Regions from separate parts of the Homo sapiens genome. Here all the other regions are linked to region 4. The links are contacts of gene promoters, found by promoter capture Hi-C in blood cells and fetal thymus (Javierre and others, 2016). All regions are on one chromosome and are shown on one strand. The core of a region is centred on a gene start or on the middle of the fragment in contact, and the rest is flanking DNA. Distances in the headings are between cores, read along the strand shown. Region 1 holds the start of UBE2W (ubiquitin conjugating enzyme E2 W). Region 2 overlaps ELOC (elongin C). Region 3 overlaps TMEM70 (transmembrane protein 70). Region 4 holds the start of GDAP1 (ganglioside induced differentiation associated protein 1). Region 5 overlaps UBE2W (ubiquitin conjugating enzyme E2 W). Region 6 has its middle 68 kb from the start of LY96.

Region 1 (3,066 bases), core at 242-2,741, 470 kb after region 4:
TATGTGGGTTTCCTCACTGTTGTAATGTTGATGACACAACAAGGCTAACACCGGATATGCTTCTGGCTGATTCCGGTTTACCAAGAGCATCCAAACATCCCTCAAGGACACAGTCATTTTGCACAACAAAGGGAAACTCCGCTCATTTCTGGCATTAAGGTGGACATCTGAGAAAGGGGAGGGTATACCACCATAACTTCTCTAGTGATGAATAGTGTTTAATATTATACCATAGACTAACTGGCGTATTTTAAAGATCTTTTTCCTTTTTGAACACATTTCAGATTAGAGAAGTTCCAGAGAACGTAATCTATTTTAAGAGTGTGAAAGAGTGATATTCCACATTGCTTTTATATCTTAAAGAAATTTCTAAAAAGAAAGCCGAGTCAATAAAATGACAGATTTTAAGCCTTCATTCTGGTAACATAAAAGCCTTCTACTCATTGTGTCTGCCACCTTAATTTTTAAAGATAGAGCATGAGGTGTAAGCTTTTGGCTTCCATTTTCCTCTTATAAACCAATGACATCTTCAGTTCCAGAATAGCTTTTTAAAAACGTGACTTCTGATAAATGTTGGCAGAACTGGTGCATTCCTAAAATAAATTATGTATGCTCAGCTTTCCCTACCCAAGTTCATCCCTAAATGACCACAAAACTGCCCACCACGAACTATGCTTAAGAGAAGTCTGGACATAATGGTATAAGTGTATATAACACGACATTGGTATATTTAAAAAAAAATTCATGCCTAGGGTCAATTCTGATAATCAAATTTAGACTGCTGCAACAACCGTAACTATTGTTGATATATGCGCAGTTTAAAAGTGAAGGGCGGGGGTAAGGGGCAGAAACTGCACACAACAAACTTCCAAATTTTGTCTCCCTTTTCAGGCAAGTTTCAGCTCCACAAATCTAAATACCCTCGCCTTTAAAATATCAGTGTCGTTCTGCTCTTAAATCCTCATCCCGTTGTACAAGGAAACCTATGTCTCTCTTCCCCAAATTAAGAATACGAGAAGCCTTCCAGGTCTGCAAATACCAGAAAGCAGCTGCGCATGAAGTTTTATGGGGCCCCAAGGCTCTGAGAGTGGGCTTGGAGGTATGGAAAACACATCCCAAGGGAAAAATCTGTGAACCGCACAACTGTGGTTGGAAACGAAATAGGAAAAAAACTGCGCGGAACCGGACGTCATCAGCATTTCGCGGTACACACGAAGAAAACAACCGTAGTCGGGTCAAAACTGGAGCCGTGTCTCCTCAGTAACGAGAGTAAATGGGGGCCCGACGCGTGAGCGGCCAGCCGGACTGAGACAGAAAGTACTCAGAGCGCCATTTACCGCGCCCTCGCCCCGCCCCGTAGCCCCTCCTCCCGTCCGCCCTGCGCGCCAGCCAATCCCCTCGCTCCATCCCCTTCCCATCGCAGACCCCGCCCCCGCGCCCGGGATGTTGAGCCCCCGCGGCGTGACGCGAGCACGGCAGCTCCTCCCCCTGCGTCTCTGGCCTCGCCGGTCTTGGGGGGATGGTTCCATCATGGCGTCAATGCAGGTGAGAGGAGTTTGCTGCATCTGGGCGGGCCAGGGAGCCGCCGAGAGAGTGCCAGCGTTCGGGCGGGGGTGGCGTCCGCGATTCGGGGACACCCGGGCGGGTTCGGGATCGGTCCGGGTGGCCTGTTTTCCCTCAGCTCAGGGCGTCGGGGGAGGGGTAAGAGGCGGCGAGAGGCGTTGTGGGGGGTGCGGTATCCGTCGGTCGAAGCGGACACCAGCCGGCCGGGAAGTTGGGTGATAAAGGAGGGTTGGGGAAGAAAGGGCAAAGTCTGGCGTTGGCGGTCTCAGAATCGGCTCCCCGCACACACACACGGGCGCTGCCAGTCTGCTGCCCGCCAGCCCCAGGGTTGCCTTTACCCCCGCTGTCCCTGGCCCGACGGAAACAGCTGCGCCCGCGGTTGTTGCCGGGGCAGGGGCGGCGGGGGGCTGAGTGTGCGGGAGCCGAGAATGCGTCTCCGGAGAAGGCGGCTGGCTGCGGACGGCGCTTAGCGGCCTCTGCTCCGGCCTCCCACGCCGGGCCCCCCAGACTGCTCGGCCCCGTCCCTCTCTTCTTCCCTTTGACTCTTAATCCTGTGCCCGTGGGTATCTTCTATTTCCATCAGCCTCGGTATTCTCGCGGACATTCCTCCAGCAGTCCACTGTCTCCTTCCTCTCGAAGCTGCCCCGTGTCCACCGCCTGATGGGCGATCTCCCGAGAGCCGAGTCCTCAGCCCCCTTAAACCTCTCGGGATAGCTTGCCTTCTATTTTGTTTCCCACTGCAAGGCCCCACCCTTGCGGTCGCGATAAGGCTATACATCTCTTTGCCCTTATTCCCAGACCTTTAGTGGAACCTTAGTTTGGTAGGAGGCGTTTGTTAACCTGTGCCATATCCCCCCGACTTAGCAAGGCGTGGTTTTCTGGCTTTCCAACTTAATTTACTCCTTTTTCCCGAATCTAGGGAGTTGTGGGTTTTTTTGTTTTTTGTTTCCAGGCAAAGATGGCAACCACAATTGTAGTTGTGCAGGGATTGAGTGCGTTATCTGTAGCCTGCATTTAATTCACAGGTGAAGACTAGCGGTATCAAAGGCATTGGAAGAGAAAGTAGAACGCTCAATAGGAGTGTCAGCTGAGTACCCTTTAGCGTTTTCATAATATCCCCTTGGGTAAAGAGACCACATTTTCTTAGAAGTGTTTTTTGCTTTTGTTTCTGGAAGAAGCAAGTCTCTGTTCCTCCTCCATTTTTTTTTCTTTACTCTGCTAAAAGTGTTTTTCTTCCCTTTTCTGCATCTTCTTCCTCTTTTGTACAAATATAGCTTTGCTTCACATTTACTCCTGTGCTTTTATGTTATTCCCCTTTCAACCTGTTTTCCTTACAATATTCTCTTTACCTTGCTTCTCCCTCTGGACTTGCCTGCAGAACAGAAAAGTTTTATGTAACATTTCTAGTTGAAGAGATATCACGAATGGTGCAGGGAAAAAACAGGAACAATTTCAGGAAACATTATACTTTACACTAGTCTCCCCAGAGACGTTGGAGAAGTT
Region 2 (2,975 bases), core at 295-2,794, 390 kb after region 4:
TGGTCTCAAATTCCTGACCTCAAGTGATCTCCCTCCCAAAGTGTTGCGATTGCAGGTGTGAGCCACTGCACCTGGCTGCTGAGAAATCTTTGCCTACAGTGAGGGTATGAAAATAATTTGTTTTCTTCTAGTAGCCTTATTTTGCATTTTAAGTTGAATTCTGTGAACCATCTGAAATTGATTTTTGTGTATGGTTTAACAGTGAGCTTCTTATCCATATGGATATTGTTCCAGCTTCCTTTGTTGAAGAGACTGTCCTTTCTCACCATACGCTTTGACCTTTGACTCACTTTTCCATATAAGGATTCAGGAAATCTGTGCTTATCTTTTTTTTTTTTTTTTTTGGCCATTTATAAGTTGATATGAAACAACTGTAGCCCACCAAAATATAAACTACAGAGAACCATCATTCACTATCCAGGGACCACTTAACATACTGTGATTACCTGTTGCAATCCACACTACTATATGTAATACTTTTTTTTTTTTTTTTTTTTGAGACGGAATTTCACTCTTATCGCCCAGGCTGGAGTGCAGTGGCGCAGTCTTGGCTCACTGCAACCTCCGCCTCCTGGGTTCAAGCCATTCTCCTGCCTCAGCCTCCCGAGTAGCTGGGATTACAGGCACCCACTACTACACCCAGCTAATTATTGTATTTTTCGTGGAGACGGGGTTTCACCATGTTGGTCAGGCTAGTCTCGAACTCCTGACCTCAGGTGATCCACCCCCTTCGGCCTCCCAAAGTGCTGGGATTATAGGCGTGAGCCATCACACCCAGCCCCATCAAGCATTTTTATACCTGTCTAAGCTAGTTGTATTCTTTTTTCTGCTATTTTTCCAGAGTTCATGGATTTTTATGGATATTTTACATTTGGCTCTTTAATCTGTAGTGTATTTTTGTGAGTGATCTGTTCTAACCTTATTTTATCCAAGTAAATAGCCAATGTAAAAAGACAAAAAGATATGAAGAACAGATTTTGCAGCAGTGTCTGTTATCTACTTAGGTAATTCAAGTAAGTCAACTGAAAAACTATTAAAACTTATATGAGTTCTGCAAAAAAAATGACGGGATGCAAAATCAACTTAGGACATTTTAAAGCTTTTAACAACACGAGCAATAGCCTTTCAGAAAATATCATAGTAAAACAGACCCCATTCATAATGGAAACTTAAAAGTACCTAAAAGTAGACCTAACAAGAAACATGTGAGAACAAAATGGAGACTTACCCAACTATTCCTGTACAGAATATAGTCTAGAATTTCATGTAGCAATATAGAATATGATAAAGGTAATATTTCAAATCAAAGGATAAGCTATTCAAATATCTTATAAATATTCACTGATACTAGATTCAACACTTAATTTCAGTGTAGGCCCTAGGCTCACCTAGATTTTTTAAGTATTTGTTATTAAACACAAACATACACAAAAAAACTTTAAGAGATTAATATTTATATGTAACACCTTAAAAGCATAATGACGTCTCAGGCCATTGTTCATGCTCTTTCTTCTGCCTAGAACTATTCTCAATCCAGCGGTTCCCCTACGAGTGGCTTTTACCTGCCCAATTCATATTTCCAGAATTCAGCTCTGTGATGGAATACATGTTCAAGCTGAAATTTTTGTCTCCTCAAACTTATATTTCTTTAGATAACTTATGGATTGGGTCCAAACTGAATCATATTTTAAATATTTCTAACTTCTACCTAAGAATTAGGAATTTTAACTCTTAATGTTGATTTTCCCTTTCAAAGGTGGGAGAAAGGGTGGGTCTCCTCTTCTCTCCTTAATCTCTGTTGTATAAAATGATGGAATTGATTTACTACATTAACTCTGTAGAGAAACTGTTGCTACCCAAAGGGCTCCTAAGATGTGACTTTGCATTGTTGCTTAGCTACTGCTAGTTAGATAAACATCCTAAATGTTTTATTCTAGGGATTTTCCAGATAAAAGAGTTGGCCCTTGAAATTCTTGTACTTCAAGCTTTCTCGCATTTGTTTTGTTTTTTTTTTTGTTTTGTTTTTTAAAAGAGTATTTACAAAGCAGTATAATGAAAAGAAAATAATAATGGCTCTCATGAATTTTTAAATTGCGTAGTATCATAAAATGACAGTACTATTTTTAAATTTTAGAGAACTATTTGAGGATTTACATCAGTAGCTGTTGGGAATTGTGGCAATTAAGTTTAACTGGAGCCAGAATTTTTTACTGTGGTAGTAGGCAATAATGGAAGGAGTGGAATGTGGGCTGTGAAGTCAGACCTACCTAGGTTTAAATCCTAACGCTGCCACTTAAGCTGTAGAAGCCTTCAACAAGTAGCAGACTCTTCCAGTGTTTCTCATCTCTAAAATCAGAATAATTCCCTTGTGGAAGAGTTGTTTTTAAATAAGATAGGCCAGGCACAGTGGCTCACACCTGTACTCCCAGCACTTTGGGAGGCTGAGTTGGGTGGATCACTTGAGGTCAGGAGCTCAAGACCAGCCTGGCCAACATGGTGAAACCCCGTCTCTACTGAAAATACAAAAATTAGCTGGACATGGTCCCATGCACCTGTAGTCCCAGCTACTCGGGAGGCTGAGGCACAAGAATCGTTTGAACCTGGAAGGCAGAGGTTGCAGTGAGCCAAGATCACGCCACTGCACTCCAGCCTGGGCCAAAGAGTGAGACTCTGTCTCAAAAAATAAATAAACAAGATAATGTATGTAAGGCATTTAGTACAGTGTTTACCGCTTCTTAGGCCTGCAAAAGGCTCATCAGATTTAATTGTTAGTGCTGCCTATTTTCTCTGCTTTATCTCAAATTAGAAATGGTACTTTGGGAGGCTGAGGCAAGTGGATCACCTGAGGTCAGGAGTTCGAGACCAGCCTGGCCAACATGGCGAAACCTGGTCTCTACTAAAATACAAAAATTAGCCAGGCACGGTGACAGACGCCTGTAATCCCAGCTACTGGGGAGGCTGAGGCGGGCAAATCA
Region 3 (2,878 bases), core at 136-2,635, 370 kb after region 4:
TCCTGGCTAAAAATCCTTGGCAAGAGTCAATCTCCACTTTACAATAGAGGTAAAAATCTTACAATGGATATTCTTGACAAAGCTAGCATAGAGACAGCAATTTTACACAAGGTATTTTTCACCTGTTTAATAACAGTGGTTTTCCTACACCCATAGGGTGCCACCAAGGGAGGAGTGCACAGTTGCAGAAACAAATTAAGATACTGAAGACAACACTACTTACCATTTCCCGTATAGCTAACCACCAGTTCAACTGTACATGTATGTTCTTATGGGCAATCATGCCAGGGGTTAGGCAAAAACCTGTGTTCTGAACCAAAGAAGACTTAAAACTGCTCCCATAATTTGTGAATTTCTTGAAATTTTGCGGTTTTTTGAAAATTTTTTAACAACTGGTAATCAATTTATGAAAACAGTTGACTTAAGCATTTGCAATGGTGACTTCCATCTCAACTCCTGGCTCAATACTGATGGAAGTAATCTGCTTAACTATCTGAGGACTGCGCAAGTCAATGAGTCGCTTGTGGATTCTCATCTGGAAACGATCCCATGCCTTAGAACCTTCACCGTAAGTTTTTCTTGTAGTGATTCTCAAAGTCTTGGTAGGCATTCAAACTGGTCCTTTCACTGATTCTTTTCCTTTGCTCCTCAGATCAAGTCAGCACACACCTTATCCAGGGATTTTACGTTGCAACTCGTTAGAGTGATATGAATTCGGTGAATTGCCACCTCTGACTCCACGGGTGTTTTTCTGGTATGTTTAAAAGCCATGGCTGCTGCAAGGCTTCCTAGCCAGCTTCCTGACAGACTTGGTCCTCAGGCAACAGCAAAGAGCAGTGAGTCAGGAGCAGGAGCAGGTGGACCACAGCTCCGCACCACCTATGACTGTGTCTTCCTCAAAGAGAAAATGTCTTTTAATGTCGGAAAATATTTATACACTTAGAAAAATCCATACACAAAGAATAAAGCAACTCTCCCATTTGCTACTGACATCAGATCCCCAGTTTAGAGTCAACCACAGTAACACAGAACTCTTATACTAGCATGAACATATTTATTCACATACCTTTCTAAAACACGAATGGTAGATACTACATTTTGGTTTTCAAACATAGCTTGTTTTATTATAAACAAACATCATTCTCTGGAAATTAAAAGCTTTGATAATTTCAAATTATTTTTAACAATCAGTCACTAACGGAATGCAAAAGGCAATTTTATTATTATACATTAAAACGTAAATCACATTTGAGCACGAACACTAACAAATAGGCTCATTTGTCATCTTTATGCCGTTTCTCTTCACTGGTTTCTTCCATATACAAAATAAATTCTTCTTTGTCATAACCCATTAGATGGATATAGTCTTCACGGTTTGGAAAGAGCACTGGATTAACTAACAGTGATTTTGTTTTAGCATAAAATGTGGTAAATACATGTTTAGCATCTGGAATCTTCACATCATTCTGGTGAAACACTGTACTCGTTTCTGCAAGCATAGCATTGTAGGTAATGGCTTTATAAGTGTCTGTTGTGGCCTCATGGTACAATCGAATGACATAGCCTTTTGTAATAAAGTGAAGCAGCACTGGGGTGATCACCGTAAAGCTTCCCATGATGCCATAGAATATGATTTGAATAGGCAGAGGCACACTTTCAGAAATAGCATTATTTTGTGTAAAAATGTATGGCAGAAATGTAAGGCCAATCAGACTCGTAGAATAAGAGAAACATTTCACACCTAAATGGGAAAAAAAGAGAGAGGATCAATACTTTTAAATTTTATAAAAGAATCAATCTATCCCACTAATTCTTCCATTTTTCTTCTTACTGTATCAGCTCAAGACAACAAAATCAAACCATAAATACAGTGCTTATTATATTCTAAGCTCTGTTTTAAGGACTTTACATATTTTGACTTCAATGTCCCTGCTACTGACCATTAGAATGCACTGCCTCTCCAGGCAGGAAATCTGCTTTAGGGTTTAAGTGGCCCTACCTCAGTTCCACAATAAAGTAGTTAATATTACTTAAAGATCCTTACTAATATTGTACTACAAAAGTTGATTCAGATAGCAGATTATCAAACAAAACTCTCTATTAACAAGCACTCCAGTATATCTAACATAAAATATTCAAACATGGGAAATTCTATCAGGCTAAGTGCCCAGGATTAAAACAGCAAATCACCAGAGAAATAAAACCAGTGGTTAAAAAACATATCGGACGGCCAGGCGCATTGGCTCATGCCTGTAATCCCAGCACTTTGGGAGGCTGAGGCAGGTGGGTCATTTGAGGTTAGGAGTTCGAGACCAGCCTGGCCAACATGGTGAAACTCCCATCTCTACTAACAATACAAAAATTAGCTGGGCATGGTGGCAAGTGCTTGTAATCCCAGCTATTCAGGAGGCTGAGGCAGGAAAATCCTTGAACCCAGGAGGTAGAGGCTGCAGTGAGCCAAGACTGCACACTGCACTCCAGCTTGGGAGACAAAGCGAGACTCCATCTCAAAAAAAAAAAACAGAAACATATGGGAAAGGTATTCAATTTCTTTAGTAAGGAAAGACATTCAAGTTAAAACAATGAGATAAGCAGCCTGGCCAGCATGGCGAAATCCTGTCTCTACTAAAAATACAAAAATTAGCCAGGCTTGGTGGCATGCACCTATAATCCCAGCTACTGGGGGTGCTGAGGCAGGAGAATTGCTTGAACCTGGGAGGTGGAGGTTGCAGTGAGCCCAGATTGTGCCACTGCACTCCAGCCTGGGCAACAAGAGCAAAACTCCGTCTCAATAAATAAATAATAAAAAATACAAAAAAAACACTGAGATACCATTTTTACCTATTACCTTAGAAAGATTAAAAATAAATGACTTCTA
Region 4 (2,989 bases), core at 426-2,925:
ACCATGCCTGTCTCAGACAGATACTTTTGAAGACATTATTGAAGAAATTATAAAATGTCTGACACATAACAAGCTGTTAATAAATGATTTACCTAAATGCACTATACAAATTTAAGCCCTATAATTCCTTAGTAAAGATATAAAATTCAAACAATTCAGAAGTGACTGGGGCAAAGAACTCAGGTATACTAACATTCTATTCTCCTTTAAGATTTATTGCTCTTTTTTCCCTCTTGTTTTTAAGGTGAAACCATTTGGTATATTAGATGAAATCGTCACAGTGCACATTTAGAATATTATGAATTTAAGACTAAGAAATCACCAACACAAACCACACATTTGCAGTTTTTTGCAAGTGAATTTTTTTAAGTTTCAACATTAACATTTGTATTTTGCATTAAATTATTTTAAATAGCATTACACTAGCCTATACAAAATTTGTTATTGACCTATTTGATATTTGTGTGCTTATGGAAATGGAAAAGGTTTTTAATCCCAAACCACCATCATGACACAAGAGAAAGAGAGAGAGGAGAGAGAGAAAAAGAGAAAGGGAACACATAGTTGTGTTGAAAGTAAATCCAAGAAATCGCAAGTAGCCTTAACATTACCATCCAGGAAAGTCTGTTCAAGATAATCAATGATCTGAGTGGCCTCACAAATTATGTTTTCCCCGTGGATAAGGACAGGCACTTCTCCAGTTGAGTTCAAACGCATAAACCAAGGCTCATTGTGCTCACTCAAGGGCAGACTTACATCATGTTCCTCGCACTTCAATGCCTTTTCAGCAATTACCAAGCGCACCTGGAAGAGTTCACACTGGTTACTACAACACATGTAAGCTTTCAATTAAATGACTTCCCTGGACACCGCTAAGCAGCCTTTCTGGGCTTCCCTGTGTTACCGACATTTTCAACAGTCGTTTTAACAATTCCTATTCCTGGAATTAACAAGTAAGGAAAGAACAATACTCAACAAATTAAGAGAAGAACACAAAATAAGTAATGAAATGATTCTGACTGTATTCATTAAACAGTCACCCTCCTCATCACTACCACTTTCTCGGTGTCCTAAACCTGATTATGGGTCCTCCCCAGACAAGAACCTGACATGTAGGTACATCAGCTCTTGCTGAAGACAGTGAATGCGAGAGAGCAAAAGAAGAGATCGCAGATTATGAGGGTCCACAAAGGCACCTCCCTCTGCCTCTCTCCGAAGACCAGCAGGCAAGGCCTCCAGACCAAATACTGAAAATGATGCTTTTTTGTCGCATTTCGCGAGAGGCGGAGCCTGGGCCATAGCCACATAGGATCATCTCCGATCGATTCTCCCCGCTCCCCACCCGGGCGCGTCCCCGCCTGGAGGGAGCGCCTGCCCGGGGTCAGGACACTGGAGGCGGATTTCTAGGTGGACCGGCTTCCCTGGGCGGGACTCAGAAGGAGCTGTCCCAGTGCTGAAGCCCGATCCGCGCCACCCTCCGCCGCCAAGGCCTGTTGTACCTTTTGAGAGCTGAAGGAATGCGTCCAATGGTACAGAATGAGCTTAACCTCCGCGTCGGCCTTGCCTTCCGCCCTCAAGGGCGGGCTCCCTCTCTGCTCTTCCTGCCTCTCAGCCATCTTGGGGTGCGCGAGCACGGGTGCGCCCAGCCTGTCCGCCCTGGACTTCTCCCTCCCACACTGCCCCGCAAGGCGTTTCCGGGTTTTGAGGGGTACCTGCCGGAAGGAGGGCGCGCGGCCCGCTGGGAAATGTAGTTTCGCCGGCGGCAGAGTCTGCGAACACGCGGGGTCTGCGACTGGAAAGCCCCTGGCAAGCCTGGGAGTGCACCTGGGAGGTGCAATTGAACGGTTGTTTTTTGGGTTTGTTTTTTTTTTTAGAAGAAAAAATAAAAAATATGAGACCCTGGTTATGAAGGGCAGTAAGGAAGAATGATGATAGCAAATTACTCTTCGGTTTGGAGGTTGCTCAGGTATAAAAGCAGCAATTTCCCAAGATACTGAGGGTTGCTCTTGGAGCCTGTTCCTTTGTTGGAAAGGAAGTTCCGGTCGACAAGCAAAGCAACAGGAAAAGGATCTATGAGCTTTCATTAGAAGATGCTACTATGACATTAGTGGACTAATTCCACAAATTTGACTAACTGCTGTAGATTAGAGAATAGTCTTGTATAAACAGTAAGTACTTGATTTTGATAATTAAACTGTGCTTTGTAAAAGAAAAAAAAATACCACTATGGAGTCATGCAAAAAAACTGTTTTTGTCATAAACAGCTAATAAACAATGGCGATATAAAATAGCCTAGTTGTTAAACACAAAAATTCTACAACAGTACTGCCTAAGTTCATATCCTGGTTTTTCCATTTTCTAAGTAAGAATAATAATTTTATTGTTTCCCTCATAAGATTTTTGTGAAAAATTAATAATAAAATGTTAAACACTCAGAACACCCTGTCACGTTGTAGGCACTCAGTCTTAGTCACAGGTTCAGTTGTCTTATAAACATTCTGTTATAACCATAGTCAGAATCATAATTTTATATTAGTCTAGTTATTATTGTATGTCTTTAAAAATTTGGCATCATATAGTAAGTTGATTTTAAAAATCTCTTTCAGTAATATGTATAAATATGACCATAGAATAAATGCCTGTATAATTTATCTGGCAAATATTTATTGAGCACCTACACTGTTCCAGACATTGTGCTGGCTCCTGGTAATATAAAGATGTGTGAAATCTAATATCTAACACTCAAGATATAATCTGGCAGTAGAGACGACCAAGGAAATAGACAATCACAATAAAGATGAGAACTGTCTTAGGGTGAACACAGAGTACTATGAGAAAGGAGGGGCAGGCAGCCAACCCAGGTCAGAGAAGGGCCCCTGGAAAAGACAAAATCTCATGAGGTTCTTCCTTGCCTTTACAGTACTTCATTTGTTACTCTCTGTAATTCTTTCATAATTTTTTAAGATTTCATAATGTCTTTTATATCCTT
Region 5 (2,994 bases), core at 214-2,713, 490 kb after region 4:
TGGAGTGCAGTGGCGCAATCTCAGCTCACTGCAGCCTCCACCTCCTGGGTTCAAGTGATTCTCCTGCTTCAGCCTCCCCAGTAGCTGGGATTACAGGCTCGCGCCACCATGCCCAGCTAATTTTTGTATTTTTAGTAGAGATGAGGTTTCACCATGTTGGCCAGGGTGGTCTCAAACTCCGGGCTTCAAGTGGTCCCCCTGCCTCAGCCTCCCAAAGTGCTGGGATTACAGGCGTGAGCCACCATTCCCAGCTAGTCACAAAAATCTTTATCCTTGTTATAGACTGAGAAGAGGAAGAGGAGGGTTTGGTCTTGCTGTCTCAGGAGTGACAAAGGCAGAAGAAAATCCATGTATAAGTGGACCTGTGCAGTTCAAACCTGTGTTGTTGAGGGTCAGCTGTGCTTGAAGAAATTGCTCAGTTTAGAAGACTCTCACCAAAAAGAAAGCAAAAAAACCACCACACACACACACACACACACACACACACACACACACACGCAAAAACCCCCTGTGCTTGAAGAAATTGCTCAGTTTAGAAGACTCACCAAAAAGAAAGCAAAAAAACCAACACACACACACACACACACACACACACACGCACGCAAAAACCCCCCTAATGATAGAGAAGGTTGGTTCAGTCCTTGCAAGCCTTGCAAGTTCGTGATGAAAATAAGTACAAGTAACAGAAAGTTAAGACAGTTAATGGTGATGGCTTGGAAAGGACTACCCATGATCCTAAATAGTAAAAATAGTGTTAAAAGGTACTAGCTGCTGCTTTTTTTTTTTTTTTTTTAGCACTTTTTCTAACATTGACTTTTTTTTTGGTGTCTGCTTATGACTGAAGTCAGACTTTTCTTTTAAAAATATATTTTTAAATTATTTTAAATCTTCATGAACTGGCAACAGTTAATATACTGAATTTTTAAAAATTCAGCTGCTGTAGTTTTAATAATTGAAAATGATTGAAAGTTAAACTGATAATTTCTTGAATTGGCAACGTAGGATGTCAAAACTGATTTTATAAGTCAGTATTTGTACTTTTCATATTTCTTAATTCCTTCTTAGAATGAAACTTGTCATAAATATATTTTATGTTCTTTTTTTTTTTTTTTTTTTGAGATGAAGTCTTGCTCTGTCACCCAGGCTGGAGTGCAATGACATAATCTCGGCTCACTGCAGCCTCCGCCTCCCAGGTTCAAGCAGTTCTCCTGCCTCAGCCTCCTAAGTAGCTGGAACTGTAGGTGTGCACCACCACACCCGACTAATTTTTGTATTTTTATTGGAGACTGGGTTTCACCATGTTGGCCAGGCTGGTCTTGAACCCCTGACCTCAGGTGATCCACCCACCTCGGCCTCCCAAAGTGCTGGGATTACAGGCGTGAGCCACCATGCCTTGCCTAACTTTTGGATTTTTAGTAGAGATGGGGTTTCACTATGTTGGCCATGCTAGTCTCAATCACCTGACCTCAGGTGATCCGCCTGCCTTAGCCTTCCAAAGTGGTGAGATTACAGACGTGAGCCACCATGCCCAGCCGCTTAAAGGTATTCTGAAAATCTCAGAATCATTCTATGGCTACTTTTGGCAACTGAGGCCCAAGTTTATGTAAACTTTGAAGCAAAAGGTTTTTTTATTTTTATTTTTATTTATCATTATTTTTTAAGACGGGGAGTCTCACTCTGTCACCCAGGCTGGAGTGCAGTGGCGCGATTTCGGCTCACTGCAACCTCCACCTCCCGGGTTCAAGCAGTTTTCCTGCCTCAGCTTCCTGAGTAGCTGGGACTACAGGCGTCTGCCACCATACCTGGCTAATTTTTGTATTTTTAGTAGCGACAGGATTTCACTATATTGGCCAGGCTGGTCTCGAACTCCTGACCTTGTGATCTGCCCATCTCGGCCTCACAAAGTGCTGGGATTACAGGTGTGAGCCACTGCGCCTGGCCCAAAAGTTGTTTTTAAGAAGGCTTAGAAGATTGAACTTGCTCTTTATCAAAATACTGATCTTACATACTCTTACATACTTGCAATCTTTTATAATACATTATTATATTTTAGAACACATACATTGAAACTATTGTAGTGAAAAAAGTTGGTATTTTTATTTTGGTCAGTTCTCTATGTATGAGATACTTTAGTTTGCTATCTACCTTAAGTGCCAGGGTTTAAACATTTTTGCTGTATTTTTCAGCTTAGAAAATCTTCCTGTAAGAATTAAATGTGATTTTTTTTTTCCTACTTGTTGATGACTCTGACCAGCATATACAAGTTTCCACCTAGTATGTCAGGAGAAAGTATTGGTAAAATCCCTAAAATCACAGTATAGTATACCTGAGCATGATAAAGAAGAAAACAAATCACTTTCTTCCTTGAATTAAAAAGTTTCCCAAACTGTCTTGTTATTATGTGTGTATTTGGGCTTGACAAAGTAACTACCCTGGAACCATAAAGTTAGCGGTTCATTTTAAGATTTTAGGCTGGGCATGGTGGCTCACGTCTATAATCTCAGCACTTTGGGAGGCCAAGGTGGGCGGATCACTTGAGACCAGGAGTTTGAGACCAGTCTGGCCAACATAGCAAAACCCCCTTTCTACTAAAAATACAAAAAATTAGCCAGGTGTGGTGGCACATGCCAATAGTCCCAGCTACTTGGGAGGCTGAGGCACAAGAATGGCTTGAACCCAGGAGGCGGAGGCTGCAGTGAGCCGAGATCACACCACTGCACTCCAGTCTGGACAATAGAGCAACACCCTGTCTCAAAAAAAAAAAATTTATTCCTGCTGATGGAAATCTTCTGTGTAAAGAGTGCTTAGAAATGCATAAGTGTGGCCAGACACAGTGGCTCATGCCTGTAATCTCAGCATTTTGGGAGGCCAGGGCGGGCAGATCACTTGAGGTCAGGAGTTCGAGCCAGACCAGCGAGACCCTGTCTCTACAAAAAATACAAAAATTAGTCAGGCCTGGTGGCTCATGCCTGTAATCCCAGCTACTGGGGAGGC
Region 6 (2,999 bases), core at 372-2,871, 290 kb after region 4:
GAGGAAACATAATCTCCTAGGATACAGGAGAAAACTTGAGGGCAAGGAGTGACCAGACTACCCCTCAGCTTACTACCTGAAATGAATTTGGTTGTGAGTTCCAACATCCACCCTCTAGATTTGCACAGCAAAGAGAGGGCTATGCCTGTGCAGTACGCAAGGGTCAAGGAGGGACTCAGGTTTATTCATTTACTCCATCAGTCTTTCGACATATATTTATCGAACACCTATTATGTGCAAGAAGCTGAGACTCAAAAGTGGAGAGAAAAAACACCTCAGATTTGTTTCCTCCTCTCTAGGAGTTCACTGTCTAGGTGTTCAACAAGGAAAAATGATTTAAGAGTGAAAAGTATTGTGATATAATTACCCCGACTGAAAGTCAGGGTTCCGATAGGTAGTGAATTTTAAGCCAAGACCTGAAGGCTAAGAATGGCCTATTGCCTATCCCATTAGATTTTTTTAACTTTGCTAATTGATTTATAAAATTTTAAGAAAACATTTTCTGGATATCAATTGTTTGTTATAACTGAAAACACCTCTCAGACAGACACTTAACTTTTATCTTTGTTAATGGTATTTTTTTCTTTTGACAATAAGAGTTGGAAGTTTTTCGTTGTCGTCGTCGTCGTCGTCGTCGTTGTTGTTGTTTGAAACAAGGTCTGGCTCTCCCTCCCAGGGTAGAGTGCAGTGGCATGATCCTGGCTCACTGCAACCTCTGCCTCCTGGGCTCACCTCAGCCCCCTGGGCTCTCACCTCAGCCCCCTGAGTAGCTGGGACCACTCGTGCACACCACCACGCACAGCTAATTTTTGTATTTTTAGTAGAGACAAGGTTTCACCACGTTGCCCAGGCTGGTCTCAAATTCCTGAGCTCAAGTGCTACCACCTACCTCAGCCTCCCAAAGTGCTGGGATTACAGGCCTGAGCCACTGCGCCCAAGCAAAGTTTGAAGTTTTGGATGTAACAAAATTTATCTCTTTTTTTATTTCATACTTTTGTTGTTTGTGTCTTGTTTGCCTAATATTTTGCCCTGAGATCATAAAGCTGTTCTCCTAATAGTTTTAAGTAGATTTTCTTATAATAGTTTTGAAGTTTTGCTTTTCACATTTAGACCTGTAATCCATTTGAAATTTAACTTTTTTGGAAATTTAACTACTCAAAAATGTGAATTAGACATTTCATTTTATTTTTTTTCCATAAGGAAGGTGAATTTTGGCAATGCCATTTATTGAATTTACCCTTTTCCAACGGGTATATGGAAAGTCCCTATAAATATAATCTGTTCCCAGATCTAATTATCTATTCTGTGTCAGTAGTACAGTTTTATTTATACAACTTTTTAAAAATGTCTTTATATCTGATAGAGAAATCCCCACCTCCTGCTTCTTTTTTAGAATGTCTTGGCTAGAAGTTCTTAGAATCTGTTTGTTAAGTTCCACACAATAATGTTGGGATTTTTATTAGAACTGCATTAAATTCATAATTTAATTTATGGAGAATTCACATCTTTCTATCAAGCATTTGCTTCCATAAATATGTTAGATTTCTTCATTTCTTCAGCTGTTCTTTCGTGTCCTTTGTGATAGTTAATTTTATGTACCAATTTGCCTGGGCCACAGTATGCTCAGATATCTGATTAAACACTATTGCTGGGTGTGTCTATGAGGGTGTTTCCAGAAGAGGTTAGTACTCGAATTGGTGGACTGAGTAAAGATGATGGCCTTCCCCAATGTGGGTGGACATCATTCAATCCGTGGAAGGCCTAAATAGAACAAGAAGGTGGAGGAAGTTTGGATTATCCTCTCTCTGCTTGACTGCTTGAGCTGAAACATCAATTCCTGCCCTTGGCACTCCTGGTTCTCAGGCCTTGAACTACGTCACTGGCTTTTCCTAGGTCTCCAGCTTGCAGACAGCAAACTGTGGGACTTCTCATTCCGTATAATTGCATGAGCCAATATCTTATAATAAATCTCTTTCAGCCGGGCACAGTAGCTCATGCCTGTAATCCCAGGACTTTGGGAAGCTGAGGCGGGTGGATCTCCTGAGGTCAGGAGTTCAAGACCAGCCTGGCCAACATGATGAAACCCCATCTCTACTTAAAATACAAGAATTAGCCCAGCGTCATGGCACATGCCTTTAATCCCAGCTACTCTGGAGGCTGAGGCAGGAGAATCGCTAGAAACCAGGAGGTGGAGGTTGCAGTGAGCCGAGATTGCGCCACTGCCTTCCAGCTTGGGTGACAAAGCAAGACTCCATCCAAAAAAAAAAAAAAAGAAAAACTTTCTAGATAGATAGATAGGTGTAGATATGTAAGTATCCTTTTGCTTCTGTTTCTCTGGAGAACCCTGACTAATACATTCTCTAGTAAACTTAAATTTTTCTCCATAAAGGTTTTGCAGTGGATGATATTTTCAAAAGCTAAAGTTCATGAGTAGCAGAAAGTTTAGGTTTAAGGTAGAAATTAAAGTTATAATCCAGAAGTTTCCTCTGGATCAGCTTAATATAATTAAAACTATCATGAAGAAAATAAAATGGAAATGCATTTTAATAGACCACTCTGGAAGATAATGGGAATGTGTTCAGCATAATCTGTGTTGTAATATTTTAGTTTTTTTTTTTCACCCTTACAAGAAATCAAAAGAAAGTCTGTCCTAGTGTTTCTTGGAGCATCTATCTAATATGCTAGAGTCATAGGAGTCTCCCAGGCATATTTGTTCAAGCCTAGACCTGGAGAAGTATCCTCTTCAAACAGGACTACTAGCTGCCCTTAGGCTCACGAAGTATTGAAGGCCTAAGAAGGTAATCACGGCAGGCTGGATCCCAGAAAGTGAATGCATGCTTTCACCTCTAGCTGGAACCCTTTTCTACTCCACAGATGTTCACTGCCCTTTTCTATCCCTTCTATTCCGCATTTTTATACTGAAGCATAACTTATGCTAACACCTCATCCCCTGGATTACTTTAACAGAGAATAAAACGTAAGGTAAGGAAATTAAGCTG

The links. Contacts are between HindIII fragments. The CHiCAGO score rates a contact against its expected background, and 5 or more counts as called.
Region 1: the fragment with the promoter of UBE2W here is called in contact with the fragment with the promoter of GDAP1 in region 4 in 11 of 17 cell types (fetal thymus, total CD4 T cells, naive CD8 T cells and 8 more); the score reaches 17.3 in fetal thymus.
Region 2: a contact is called between a fragment that was not itself captured here and the fragment with the promoter of GDAP1 in region 4, in 1 of 17 cell types (fetal thymus). The highest score is 5.4, in fetal thymus.
Region 3: a fragment that was not itself captured here is called in contact with the fragment with the promoter of GDAP1 in region 4 in 1 of 17 cell types (fetal thymus); the score reaches 7.6 in fetal thymus.
Region 5: a fragment that was not itself captured here is called in contact with the fragment with the promoter of GDAP1 in region 4 in 1 of 17 cell types (fetal thymus); the score reaches 5.8 in fetal thymus.
Region 6: a contact is called between a fragment that was not itself captured here and the fragment with the promoter of GDAP1 in region 4, in 2 of 17 cell types (M2 macrophages and fetal thymus). The highest score is 5.6, in M2 macrophages.

Annotation. Positions count from the first base shown.
Region 1 is chr8:73,877,287-73,880,352 of GRCh38, reverse strand. UBE2W (ubiquitin conjugating enzyme E2 W) reads left to right here and starts at 1,491. Exons shown (of 6, transcript NM_018299.6): 1 at 1,491-1,545. The coding sequence starts at 1,531. It overlaps LINC01617 (long intergenic non-protein coding RNA 1617), which reads right to left and starts at 1,371. Exons shown (of 3, transcript NR_147034.1): 1 at 1-1,371. RefSeq lists silencers at 1,259-1,548, 1,689-1,738, 1,759-2,018 and enhancers at 1,405-2,282, 2,759-2,808. The HindIII fragment of the contact is 3,471 bases long and covers 492-3,066 here.
Region 2 is chr8:73,961,616-73,964,590 of GRCh38, reverse strand. The region is part of intron 1 of ELOC (elongin C); the gene reads left to right. Among named protein-coding and RNA genes, the nearest start is that of ELOC, 9.1 kb to the left of the region's middle. The HindIII fragment of the contact is 886 bases long and covers 1,102-1,987 here.
Region 3 is chr8:73,980,018-73,982,895 of GRCh38, reverse strand. It overlaps TMEM70 (transmembrane protein 70), which reads right to left. Exons shown (of 3, transcript NM_017866.6): 3 at 113-1,741. The coding sequence ends at 1,275. It also overlaps the pseudogene RPS20P21. Among named protein-coding and RNA genes, the nearest start is that of TMEM70, 5.3 kb to the right of the region's middle. The HindIII fragment of the contact is 450 bases long and covers 1,161-1,610 here.
Region 4 is chr8:74,349,089-74,352,077 of GRCh38, reverse strand. GDAP1 (ganglioside induced differentiation associated protein 1) reads right to left here and starts at 1,675. Exons shown (of 6, transcript NM_018972.4): 1 at 1,500-1,675; 2 at 612-804. The coding sequence starts at 1,616. RefSeq lists an enhancer at 1,433-1,662. The HindIII fragment of the contact is 8,708 bases long and covers 845-2,989 here.
Region 5 is chr8:73,856,483-73,859,476 of GRCh38, reverse strand. The region is part of intron 1 of UBE2W (ubiquitin conjugating enzyme E2 W); the gene reads left to right. Among named protein-coding and RNA genes, the nearest start is that of UBE2W, 21 kb to the left of the region's middle. The HindIII fragment of the contact is 4,198 bases long and covers 1-2,994 here.
Region 6 is chr8:74,057,797-74,060,795 of GRCh38, reverse strand. It overlaps a transcript of LY96 not described here. Among named protein-coding and RNA genes, the nearest start is that of LY96, 68 kb to the right of the region's middle. The HindIII fragment of the contact is 7,541 bases long and covers 1-2,999 here.